Regions from separate parts of the Homo sapiens genome. Here regions 2, 3 and 4 are each linked to region 1. Evidence: promoter capture Hi-C in 16 types of primary human blood cells and fetal thymus (Javierre and others, 2016). All regions are on one chromosome and are shown on one strand. The core of a region is centred on a gene start or on the middle of the fragment in contact, and the rest is flanking DNA. Distances in the headings are between cores, read along the strand shown. Region 1 holds the start of UBR4 (ubiquitin protein ligase E3 component n-recognin 4). Region 2 overlaps TMCO4 (transmembrane and coiled-coil domains 4). Region 3 holds the start of LOC105376823 (a long non-coding RNA gene). Region 4 overlaps PAX7 (paired box 7).

Region 1 (2,898 bases), core at 310-2,809:
TTCATGTCCCAAAGCCATTATAAAATTCTGGGTCTCCAGCCTTTCCTTAGGGCTCTGGTTCAGTATCTTGAAATACTGCAATATTTATAGTGTTATGGAAAGTTCTTTTTCATTTCTGATGTTTTTATGTTTAAGAAACTTGCTGTTATTATTATCCTCTGGTAAGTAGGCACTGAAGGAAAATCCCTACTGCTGTCATCAAAGCCACATTTTCCTCCAAGACCGGCTTTGACTTGACTGAATTTTATTTCGAATGTAAAGATGCAGGCTGGGCGCAGTGGGTCAAGCCTGTAATCCCAGCACTTTGGGAGTCCAAGGTGGGAGGAACCTAGGACTTCGAAAACAGCTTGGGCTACGTAGGGAGACCTGTCTCTTAAAAACAAACAAAAAAAATTAAGAGTGGTGGCCTGCACCTGTATAGTCTCAGCTACTGGGGAGGCTGAGGCTGGAAGATCACTTGAGCCAGGGAGGTGGAGGCTGCAGCCAGCTGCAACTCTGCCACTGCACTCCAGCCTGGGCTATTGGGCGACAGAGCAAGATCCTGTCTCAAAAAAGGTAAAGTAGGTCATATCTTAATAAAAGTGCAGATTAATCACTAGGTACCAATTCATTTATCAGTGTTACACACCAAGAACAAAAGCTCTTCCTAAACTTAGGGGGAGAATTTCAGGGCTTTAGGAATTTGAAACCGTCTTCACAGTTCCTTCCCAGTCTTATTTAGGCCAGCTGTAGGCCACAGGCTAGAGCTTGAAGCCGTCCACCAATATCTCACTCACAGGACTGTCCTTAATGCACGAATACCTTTCCTCGAGCAAACTGCTTTTCCCTCTTAGACCTTGTAGCCAGATCATTTTACCGGCAAAAGTCTCAGACATCTCCTGTGAATAAAAGCTTACATTCTTTCCTTGCCAGTAGAAAAAAGGGGAACACGTAAGCATACGTGGCAAATTGCAAAGAGGGATGCATTGTACGAGCTGGTCAGATTGTTAATGAGGGCAATCCAAACAGAAGAGATTTGAGTGCTAAGGGAATACGGATCAGTGATTAAAAGGTGTTGTGAGAGGGAGAAATCTTTGTAAACTATGGCGCTCTTTAGTATTACTATTGGGGGGATCTAGGCAGGGGAAGAAGCAGGTGAAAGCGTTTTAGGCTTCGGCCTCCTCTTGTCGTCCTTAGCTGTCCCAGGCCAGGGCCATTCTATACGCCGAGGCGTAGTCAACTCTGCTGCCCTAGACTTGCCCACTGAACCCATGCCCCAGACTCACCTTTACCCGCTGCCCGGAAGCCAAGTCGCTACCACCTGCTTGAGCAACTCCCACCGCGCAGGCTCAGAAGTTAACGCTCTCCCGCCTTTCCCCGCTGCGCTACCTTCTGAGCAGGCGCAGCGTCTCCGATCCGTTCCCTCGCCGCGGCTCGACCCCGGTGAGAGCAAAGGCCGCTCCGCGCGTCGCGTTTTTGACCCATGACGGCGGCGCGCAGTCTGACGCGACAGATTGCGTCACTTCCGCCCCCTCCTGGGAGGCGGCGCTGGGCCGGTGGCAAGCCCCCGGAGGGAGCCGCAGTAGTACGACGGAAGATGGCGACGAGCGGCGGCGAAGAGGCGGCGGCAGCGGCTCCGGCGCCGGGGACCCCGGCAACGGGGGCGGACACGACCCCGGGCTGGGAGGTGGCTGTGCGGCCCCTGCTGTCCGCGTCCTACTCCGCCTTCGAGATGAAGGAGTTGCCGCAGCTGGTGGCCTCAGTCATCGAGAGGTACCGGGCGGCGGCTCTGGCGGGCGACGCTGTTGTGGGGGGAGGGGATTTCGAGCCGGATCGTCTGGACCCGCTTTCCGGGCCGCCCCCTGCCCCCTTGAGGATCCCCGCCACAGCCACGGCTTCGGGGTCCCGGGCCCGGGGAGACTGGCTTGCCTGGGTTTCCCTCCGCCAACGCATGTAAATCACCTCTACCTCAGTTTCCCCTCTCGAGCAAAACTTTAGCGGCCTCCCTGCGGGAGGGCGTGGCCGGACATGGTTGAGAGTGAGATGCATTCGCCCTCTTAAGGGAATGTTCACGGGGCTGCCCCTTGGGTCAAGTCACAGATGAGTTTGCATTTCTCGCCCGCACTCATCCTCCTAGCCTGGGCCGGAGCGGAGCCGTACGGTATAATTTAATAACGGTCTCCCCGCGGTGCTGTAATCAGTGGGGGCACGTGCTATTTCTGTGACTGAAGCCACTAGCTACATTGATGACCTCTTTTTACGTTGCACTCCTTGTGCATTCCTACTGTATCGGTCTTTGATTAAAAACATTTCAGTGTGTGTCTGAGAGATCATTTTCCCAGAGGATGTGTGGTGTGTGTGTTCTCTTGCTGCCTCCCATCCCCCTCGCATTAAAATATCATCACATTCTTTTACAAACGGTACTATCTGTTGGTTTCCTTTTGTGTGTTTTTGTCTTTTTGCACAGCGATTCTTAGCTAGTGACAGTTATGTAGGTACAAAGATGGTGATCTCAGAGTGCCTGCCTTTTCCTGACATACTGTGCTCAGAGCAGTCTTTCATTAGTTTAATGGTAGACTTTTGCTTTTAAAGCCAGACTGACTTTCATTTTTCTAGCCATACCTCATTTCAGCAACTCCCTGCAATTGTTAACTGGGTCATTTTAGCTTCACGATGACAAGGGTATATCTAGCTGCTATCCAGAGGTTAAAAATTGCTATTTGTTACTCAAAGGAGGCCCACGGTTTGACAAATTGTTTTTGTGCTTTTTCTTGTTGTAGACTTGTAATCCTTTGGATGCAGAGTTTTTAACAAATTATAATAAAATAATGGTTGAGTTTGGTAACTTCACAGTCAGCTTTACAGACGGATTTTGCTATCTAATCATCAGGCCAGGAATGTTCTGAAGATGTAAACAGG
Region 2 (2,958 bases), core at 196-2,695, 550 kb before region 1:
ATCCCCAAGATGTCCTGAGTTAGACTGCCCTGTGAGGGCTCTGCAGCCAGGCTCAGCCTCTCAAAATCGGGACCCTGGGCACACAACGGGGCTTCAACCCAGTGCTCAGCAATGGACAGGGTGTATGGTACTGGAATACTGTGTAGTTTCTTCTTTATATGGGAAATAATTCATTTAGGGTAAAAATGGGGCTACGTAATAAATATTCTAGAAAAAGTATGTAATTAGAAAAGTTGGTGAATCAAGGGATAGTAGGGTGGTGGGTGAGGTTAGCAGTTATATGAATGTGACCTGTGAGGTGTGTCCTCAGACCCAGGGAGAAGAGAGACAAAGGGCCCCTGCCCTGGCACAGCAGCAGGCAGCCCACAGCCTCACCCTGGCACCCTGGCTCAGAGAGTGGCTTCTTAACAGGTACAGGAAGGAGGAAACATGACAATTTCCCATGAAGTAATATCAGCCACCCTGTATCGGGCACTTACTGTGTCCCAGGTGCCAGCCAAGCTCACCACATCCATCCTCTTATTGTCCCTCAACAAAAGCCAGATCAAAAAGATATTCTTGGCCCGGCGTGGTGGCTCACGCCTGTAACAATCCCAGCACTTGGGAGGCCGAGGCAGGCAGATCACTTGAGGTCAGGAGTTCGAGACCAGCCTGGGCAACATGGTGAAACCCCATCAGTACTAAAAATACAAAAAGTTACCAGGCATGGTGGTGGGTACCTGTGATCCCAGCTACCCGGGAGGCTGAGGAACAAGAATCGCTTGAACCCTGGAGACGGAGATTACAGTGAGCCAAGATCGTGCCACTGCACTCCAGCCTGGGTGACAGAGTGAAACTCCATCTCAAAAAAAAAAAGAAAAAAAGAAAAAGATATTCTTATTCCCCTTTTGCAGATGAAGAAACTGAGGCTCAGAGAGGTTAAGAGACTTACTGAACCCATTCAGCTAGTAGGAACTTAGATCAAGATTTAAACCCAGGTCTGTTTGACAAAGGCTGAAGTTTCTGCCTCTGGGTTCCTTCGCTTTGGTCTGGAGGGCAGCCCCCAAAGGGCGGGGATTGACCATGATCTCTTCCCAAAGGTGTGGGCTCTCCCAGCAGGTACGAGGTCAGCCCCGACCCACCATCCCTACCTCCATGCTCAGAGATGGAGCCATTACTGGGAACAGGCTGTTTCAGTGCCTTACAACAGGAGGCTGTCCTGCCCCCCGCTCCTGATTTGGGGGATTTGGAAATGTGGGGAGAGTCAGGATTGTTATCACAACCTGTGTGGGTGCAACTGGCATTTAGGGCCAAGTTCCCAGGGTGCTGCTATTCTTTGATGCATAAGAGTGTTCGATAATGAAGTACGAAACGCAGCTGCTTCTGTATTGAGAAATGCTGGTGGGCGAAGGAGTCCCATCATGAACACACAGCCTGGCTCTGGACATGCCCCTTGCTCTTGTTGAAGCAGGGGGACCAGTTGGCTCCAGGGGCTCCCACAGTATGTGGTTGTGTGTCTGGGGTGGGCACCAGGGCTAATCCCGCAGTTCTGGGTGTCTGGCACACTTCTGCCCTCTGGTGGCAGAGCCGAGATCCCTCGGTCACCCTCCCCAATCCCCCATCTTTCCAAAGAACTGTTATCCCGTGATACGTAACTTTTAGGTGTGCCTGTGGCCCATGATCTAGGGCTGCCCCTGAGATTGTATGTATACCCCATGTGCATAAAATATAGGATTCACAGCTGGCCAAACGAGATTGTCCTAGGACACCAAACTCACTCAAGAGTAAGGCATTTGCCTTTAAAAGGCACTCATAGTGGAATGAGCAGAAATGTTGGCATCACATAATTTGGATTATAATCCAAGCTCCAGCACTCTCTGACCTGTGTGGCTTTGAGAAAGTTTCTTATCCACTCTGCACCTGTTCTTTCTTCATTTGCAAAATGCGGCATCATAGTGACAACCTCCTAGGACCATTGGGAGGATCAGCAATCACAAATGCAAGCTCCTGCCATGATGCCTGCTGCTTAGGAGCAGGCCAGGGATGCCGGGTTCCCTTCCCTGCAGAGGTGGCAGGAGGAGCATCACGCTCTGCCTCCAGGCATGAGCACATCCAGACTATCTCAGACTGGGAGGAGCTCATTTGCAAGAGGGGAGCCCACTGCTCTGTTTCCTGGGGTAGGAATCATCTGTTTCAGAATCACTGGGAGTGGGGAGTGTTGTTAAAAGTACAGATTCCTAAGCCCTACCCCAGATCTCCTGCATGTGGGACCGAGGAAGCTGTAATTCCACAAGCTCTCTGGGACCTTGATGTTCCCTAAACTCTAAGAACCACTGTCCCGCTGTGACTGTCAAGTCTCCACATGACCCTGTTGCTGTTGGGCTGTTTCAAGTTCATTTGACCTTGGGCTTTAAAGGTCTCTCCTTGTGAGGAGGAACAGGTACCCTGAGGCTGACCCTCAGATCTCTGAGCTGGAAAGGACCTCTGGATACCAGCTCCTTTGGTCCTTCCGGCAGGATCCAAAAGTCTGGGCCTGGGCACTGGACTGGAATCTGCACATCTATCAGGAGCAATGGGGGGATGTTGCAGCACCCATTGATCATGGGCTGATTTAGAAGGAGGCCGTGAGGAAGGGGTGCAGGCTGGAAGCATGGGCGGGCTTCGGGGAGAGGTGTGTGGCTGGAAGACAGTGTTCTGCTAGCTCGTGGCCCTCCTTCCCACTTCATGGTGCGGGGAATGGGTGGCGGTCAGGTGCACAGCATCTGCACCCAGGCTGCCACTTTACTACTCGCTGTCCAGGTGAACCTGGCCACTGGCCTAAGCTCTCTGCACCTCACTTTCCTCTTTGAGAAGATGGAGTTTCTATAGTACCCGCCACTTCAGAGGGTCATAAGGATTCAATAAGCCAATACGTGCAGAGAGTGTAGTGCAGAATCTGATCTAGATGAGTAGGTGATAAATGAAGCTTCCAGATTAATA
Region 3 (3,144 bases), core at 370-2,869, 680 kb before region 1:
AAGTCATGAATCGCTTTTCAGGTCAATTAATACCATCATGTTTATTAAGGGCATATACAGCTAAACCTACTGATCCCCAACTACCTAGCATACTGCCGATAACCAAGTAGGCAAACAAATATTTCTTGAATAAATGAATGTCGTGATTTATATAACCAAACCCTTGGCTGGGAGGGGGGAGGATGCCAGTGGACTTAATTACCCAATGCATTACTCCTGAAGGACACAATGTCCCACAGTGAACCTACCATGCTTCTCAAAAGGAATGTCATCTTCTACAAAGGGTTCAAAATCTTCCCGCTGCTTTATCATGTAGTCCACTGTCTCCTGTCTGTGCTTGAGATGATTTCGTGAGTGTCCCTCCAATTGATCACCAAGAGCTCTGAACAAGCAATTGCTGTCAAAACAACAACACGAGTCAAGACCTTTCAAAAATGAACTTAGTTCGTCTAAAACAATGATGCTTCATGCCAGATCATCCATGGAAATATTTTGTGCACACAGAGGTAAAGACTCAACTCTAATAGTCCAGGATTCTTCCAAGACCACGGGGGACAGCATGAGGGCATATTCAACCATATTACCTTCTTGAGAGGCAGCAAACAAGGATTCTATTCCCCATGTACCAGCTGGCTGACTCAGGAGAGTCATCAAACTTCCCTGGGCCTCAGCTGCTTCAACAAGTGGAGCCGGTGATACACTAACCACCTTACTACAAGGTCCAGACCTTATAGGCCATTCCATGCCTAAGGGCTATGATTTACAGATCCTCTTCCAAAATCATGTCCTATCTACAGCCTCTTTTCTAAAACAAGTTCCACTACAGCTACCCAGCTAAGTAATCATTCATTTAACAAATAGTACCCAAAAAATAGCAATTTGTCAAGCTGCCAATACTAACAACTGAACAATACTCTGTTTGAGTCCTAAGAACATAGTGGAGAAAGTCATGAGAAGGAAAGCACTTGGACAACAAACAGTTGTACTATGGAAAGACACTTCCTCCTTGCCTCCTCACTTAGCACCCAGGGAGCAACAATGCCATTGTTATTCCTGCCAAATGAAAACTTTAAACACCACATTTTGTTTCTCTAAAATTAAAATACTGGTAATAAACTGTAAGAGTTATCTTTACTTTCAAACCCCTCAAAGGCTTCTAAATTCCGAACTATCACAAACACAGAGGCTTAGATACACAGAGACTCAAACAAGACAAACACAATCTGGTATCCTTAAAACTACAGAAATAAACAATTCTGAAGCCAAACAGTTGTCCAGTTTTACACCCAACTGTTTACTCTTCCAAATGAAAAACTATGATACTGTAATTCCAAAGTATAAACTCATCACTTTCAGAAAGATTTCATGTCTAAATGTGTAGGAAAAAAGGGGGTTTTGTTTTTCAACTCAGAAAAGTGAATTTTCAACAGAAAGCTATAGAAAGGCTGGAATCTCTTCTAATGTATAAGAATATATACTTTTTTTTTTTTTGCAGGGGAGGGGAGAATTAAGACAGCTTCTATAAATTAAAAACCAAGAAGCTTTCCAACAATCTAAGACAAGATTCTAGAAGGAGTGGAATATAGAGTTCTGTAGGCTAGACTGAGGTGTCTTGCTAAAATCTGACAATGGCAGTCTTTTTTCAACCATGGAGAAAAGTAAGTTAATCGATAAAACAATTTAAATGTCAAGCTTTTCCCTCAAACTTTTCTTAATCAGCATCTGCCACCACTAGCCTATTCTTGAATTTAGTTTAAGAGATGTGATTTATCACAAATTTATGTAGTTATTTTACATTTAATGTACCAAAATTCATGGTATTCTACAGTTACATGTTTGCTAGGAACTTTTAATAACATGAGCAAATGTTCTCCAAAAAAGTAGGTGTAGAACTGTATATGCCACATGAACTCAACCAAGTTCATCTGTACACTATACACATACACAGACACAGAAACACACACAAACGTATGCCAAGAAAACACACAGAAACAACCACTTAAATAGTTCTTACAATGTGCCAGGGACTGTCCTAAACACTTTATATGTATTAAACATGTTGTGTCTCACAACTCTGAGATAGGTCCTATTACCATCCCTCAGGGGAAACCTGCCCAAGGTCACAAAACTAGTAAGTGGTAGGCCCAGGATCCAAGTCCAAATAACGTGGCTCTCGCTCGAATGTCAACACCAAAATGATAGCCATAGTTACCCCTAGGCAGCAGAATTAAAAATAATATTTAAGAGTTTTAATTGTTACATTTTTTAATATGCTTTTCATTACTTACCAAACTTTCTTTGAGCTCACCCAAAACAAGCCAAAATAGACAAATCACTTCCTTTTCTGACAGGATTACAAGGTAATGAACAAACACTCCAGTGACCTGGGTTTCCTTAGGTGAGCCCAATAAGAGCACTCAAGAAACTCATGAGAACAAAGCACCGCTGCCCAAAGGGCCTCTAGGAGATCTGGGCCACTTCCTGAGTTCACACTCTCACCATTACCTATAGCAGGGCTTCTCAATCTCCACATTATTGACATTCCAGGATCATTTTTTTGTTGTGGGAGGCTGTCCTGTGCACTGTAGGAAGTTTAGGAGAATACTTGGCCTCTGCCATTAGCTGTCAGTAGCACATCACTACCTCCCTCCCCATCAGTTGTGACAACCAAAGATGTCTCTAGACATTGCCAAATGTCCCCTGGAGGGCAAAATCATCCCTGCTTGAGAACCACTGTGTTATAGGGATATATGGCAGGTCTCGCATTTGAGTTCACAAAAACAACCAATTACATAAAGAGCACGCAAATGTTTTGAGTGCGCAATAATTTACTATTAGACAATATTGCAACACACGCACCAAAAAACCTAACGTGCTCTCTAGACTGCAGTAATAATAGTAAATGTGCAGAAAAAGGAAAAGGTTTTATTATTTGGGGTCAGACCAGATAGGGTACTGGGTACCATTCTAGTTACTGTATTTTAAGAGAGACGTATTCAGATAAATGATGTGGCTTTAATACAATATGAAGAACTACTAGTGATGTTTGGCCTAAAGAAGGCTCAGGGGGACGTGATCAATACCTCCAACTGTCATGTGAAATTAAAATTATACCTGTATAATAAAACGAAAACCTGGAAGCCA
Region 4 (3,209 bases), core at 434-2,933, 570 kb after region 1:
TAGTGAGTTGCGGGTGGGATGGACAGTAGAACCTCGACCACGATGCACTTTGCCCCTCTCAGATTGCTCCAGCCTGGCACACCTGGGTTCGGATGGAGAGCAAGGCGGTCGGAGGAGGGGATGGAACACAGCCGCGGGGGGCTGGTGGGTGCGACCTGGACCCGGAGTTGCACTAAGCCTTCAGCTCGCCCTGGGTTGCCTCCCCATTACTCGCCCTCCAGTCCGCAGCGTTCGCAGCCTGGAAGAGGGGAAAGTGGCCGGAGCGCCATCCCTTCCCAAGAACTTAGAAGGGGCGGCGGCTAAATTGGAAGGCGGCGAGCTTCACTCTCCGGGCAGTGAAGCCCGGGCCGGCCTGTTAATTTAGCAACGCTCTGAATGCAGTTCCCGGCCTCTCCCTCTCTCCACGTCCCAACACCGCCAGGCACGCGGGCTGGCCCCTGCCCAGCGCCCCGGGTTGGAGCGCAGAACCCGGCCTCCCGCCTCGGGGTCGGCCTCCCTCCCGCCCTGCCGGCCCAGCTCGCTCGCCTCTAATTAAGCGGCAGGATCGCAGCGAGCCGCCGGGACGTGCTGTAATATGATGAACTGCCTTTGTGCGGATGTCACCGAAAGCGCTTCTGATAAGGCGAAGCCACGAAGGATCAAAAGGGCGGCCGCGGCTCGCCCGCCTCCTATCTTCCCCTAGCCGCTGCCCGGCTTTGAGCACTCGCCCTCTCGGCCCGTGCTCTCCCGCGGGCTGTCTCTAGGTCCCGCTGGCTCTCCTGATCCGCCTGTCCCAGGGCCAGTCTCTCGGTGATTCTGCATCTCTTTGTCTTTCTTCCTGCTGCTCGGCGCCTCCCTCGGCGCCTCCGCATTTTCCAGCGTCCTCAAACTGTGCGCAAGATTCTCTTCTGCTGCGCTCAGACTTTCTCACTCTGAATTTTCTAGCTCTCTCCTCCTCTGTGGCTCTCTGTCTCCGCTGCCTCTCCCCACCCCTCCCTTGGTCTCCACCGGAGCTCGGGCCCAGCGCACCTCCAGGACCAGGGCGACCAAGCCATGGAAAGGTCCGTTCGCTGACCCTCAGACTGGGGAAATCGGCCAATTCACTGGCAGCCGACACGCAGAGCTCCGCGGCGGCCCCAGTGCCCCTCGCAATCCACCCTCGCTCAGCTCGGCTGCCAAACCGGGGGCCTGGCACGCGTGCCCAAGGCGCCCTAGAATGCCCTCGGGGCCTCTTTTGAGCTGGACTTGGGGCGCACACAACTTCCCTTCACCCCTCCCGAGGCTGTAGCGACCCGCAGACGCTTTTCCTCTCCCAGGAGGTTGAAGTTCCAAGTGCAGCCGACCCCCTCCCTTCGCATCCCCTCCCCACACCCTTTCCTTTGGCCCCCGCCTCCCCTTTGCCCTCGACCCCGTCTCTTCCTCCTCCAGGCCCCTCCCCTTCCCATGCTGGTAGTTCCCCCTGCGCTCTCACTGGACTCCTTCCCCGCCTCACCTCTCCCCCACCCCACTTCGTTTGAAGTTTTGGAGACATCTATCTACTAATGGCGAAGTTTCCCCCTTAGGTCACCGTTCTGCCTTGATTCGATTTGGGAAGGCGAGTTCCCTCCCTCCCTCCCCCTGCTCCACCCCAGCCGGGGCCAATCGCTCCAGAGCAGGTCAGAAAGCGCTGACCCCATTTCCACCTTTTCCTCTTTCAGCCAGAGTTGGGGGAAGGGGAAAAGAAGAGGGAAGGCCCCGGACAGCAAAAACTGAGGGGGGCATCCTAATCTTCCCAGCGCCTCTAACCCTCATCCTGTTTGCTAATTACCCCTTTAGTCTGCAATGGGAGGGAGAGAAGAGCTATTTTTCTGGAATTTCTGGAATGTGTCCTCCCCCCTTAGTCATGGCCTTCAAGGCCCCAGAGCCTCTAGAGAACCTTTCTTTGGGGGTCTCTCCTCTGTGCAGGAACCCTTCCCTCAACCAGGCATTGTCTTTTCAGGGGTGTGAGTTCTGTCTAGTCTTAGACTATGAGCTTCCAGGGCCACGGCCAGGACCTTGTACATTACATGTTTATATCCTTAGGTGCTCTTGCCTCACAGTACAGAATGAAGCCTCATCAACTTTGTTGATGGTGATAGAATGATGGCAAATAGAAACTCCAAAGAGGTAACCTGGAATGAAATCTCATTTGCTCAGCCCTCTTTTCCTATATAAAAATATGTTTTATATAATATTATTTATATATAATGTAATGTGTGACAACTATCATTTTCAGAAAGACATTCTTAAAAAAAAAAGCCCAAATAATCACCTTACTGCTTTAAGGCTACTGTTATATGTGCTTTTAAATCCTTCCATGTAAATTCCACTGAAAATTTGGAAAGCTGTGAAAGGGGAGGGGGCCGCGGGAGTTGGGGGGGGGGAGGTTAATCCGGGTTTAACGCTGCGATGCAGTCTCAGGACCAGGGTTAGCCTGATTGCGTTATCTCTTCCCAACATTTGAGACGCCCATATTTTACCCAGCCAAATAGCTCCGAGAGCAGCGCAGATGGCTGCTGTGGTCGCGCCTCAGGAAAATGTGTTATTAATATCTAAATAACTTCCCAATACTGTCTGGTAAATCTCCCCTCCACCATTCCAAATGATGAATTCGTTTGAAGTCTTCCCCCAGCCTCGTCTTTTCAATGTCTCTCTTCTCTCTTCTTCTTAGCCAGGCTTATTTCAAACTGGTAAATATCTAATTCCTTTAACCGCTGCGCCGTGCACACTAGTCTTTTAGGTACAAACGCCTTGAAACAGCCCAAGTGTGGCGGTGCGTGCCCCGAGGGGAACACAAAACCCGCACGCCCTCGCAGCGGGGGACCCCACCCGGTTCAGACGTGCCTGCGTTCCAAGACCGGCTGAGCACGGGAACCTCACTCAATCCGGGAACCGAGCCTCTTTTCTTGCGCGCCCTGGGGAGCCCCTCTTGGCTCCCCACGGAGTCCCAAAGGCACCCCCCAACACTCAGCTCTTCCGCAGCTCCCAGTCCCCTCCCTTCCACCCCTTCCCAGACCTCCGACGGCTTCCCCCGCTCTCTGGGGCGGATAATTGCCCTCCGCTCGCCTGTTCTCCCTTGTTTAAAGTTTGTTTTCTAAATGTCTTCTATTAGATTATGCTCATTCATCCCCCTCCAACCTTATCTCCTTCTGTCTCTTCTCTCCTTGCTCGTCACACTCAATTTAGGCACGAGTTTATCTAGCAAACAGTTT

Evidence for each region. The method cuts DNA at HindIII sites, captures the fragments that hold promoters and counts their contacts. A CHiCAGO score of 5 or more calls a contact.
Region 2: a fragment that was not itself captured here is called in contact with the fragment with the promoter of UBR4 in region 1 in 1 of 17 cell types (total CD4 T cells); the score reaches 5.1 in total CD4 T cells.
Region 3: a fragment that was not itself captured here is called in contact with the fragment with the promoter of UBR4 in region 1 in 2 of 17 cell types (total CD8 T cells and total B cells); the score reaches 6.1 in total CD8 T cells.
Region 4: a contact is called between a fragment that was not itself captured here and the fragment with the promoter of UBR4 in region 1, in 1 of 17 cell types (fetal thymus). The highest score is 5.7, in fetal thymus.

What each region holds. Positions count from the first base shown.
Region 1 is chr1:19,208,927-19,211,824 of GRCh38, reverse strand. It overlaps UBR4 (ubiquitin protein ligase E3 component n-recognin 4), which reads left to right and starts at 1,559. Exons shown (of 106, transcript NM_020765.3): 1 at 1,559-1,752. The coding sequence starts at 1,577. It overlaps EMC1-AS1 (EMC1 antisense RNA 1), which reads right to left and starts at 1,439. Exons shown (of 2, transcript NR_135114.1): 1 at 1,266-1,439. RefSeq lists silencers at 475-544, 1,570-1,889 and enhancers at 1,170-1,219, 1,470-1,519. The HindIII fragment of the contact is 5,774 bases long and covers 894-2,898 here.
Region 2 is chr1:19,760,980-19,763,937 of GRCh38, reverse strand. All of the region lies in intron 6 of TMCO4 (transmembrane and coiled-coil domains 4), which reads left to right. Among named protein-coding and RNA genes, the nearest start is that of TMCO4, 37 kb to the left of the region's middle. The HindIII fragment of the contact is 3,003 bases long and covers 1-2,946 here.
Region 3 is chr1:19,887,638-19,890,781 of GRCh38, reverse strand. It overlaps OTUD3 (OTU deubiquitinase 3), which reads right to left. Exons shown (of 8, transcript NM_015207.2): 2 at 249-397. LOC105376823 (a long non-coding RNA gene) reads left to right here and starts at 1,618. Exons shown (of 3, transcript XR_947028.3): 1 at 1,618-1,658. The HindIII fragment of the contact is 151 bases long and covers 1,544-1,694 here.
Region 4 is chr1:18,641,126-18,644,334 of GRCh38, reverse strand. The region is part of intron 4 of PAX7 (paired box 7); the gene reads right to left. Among named protein-coding and RNA genes, the nearest start is that of PAX7, 12 kb to the right of the region's middle. RefSeq lists an enhancer at 2,863-3,209. The HindIII fragment of the contact is 6,318 bases long and covers 1-3,209 here.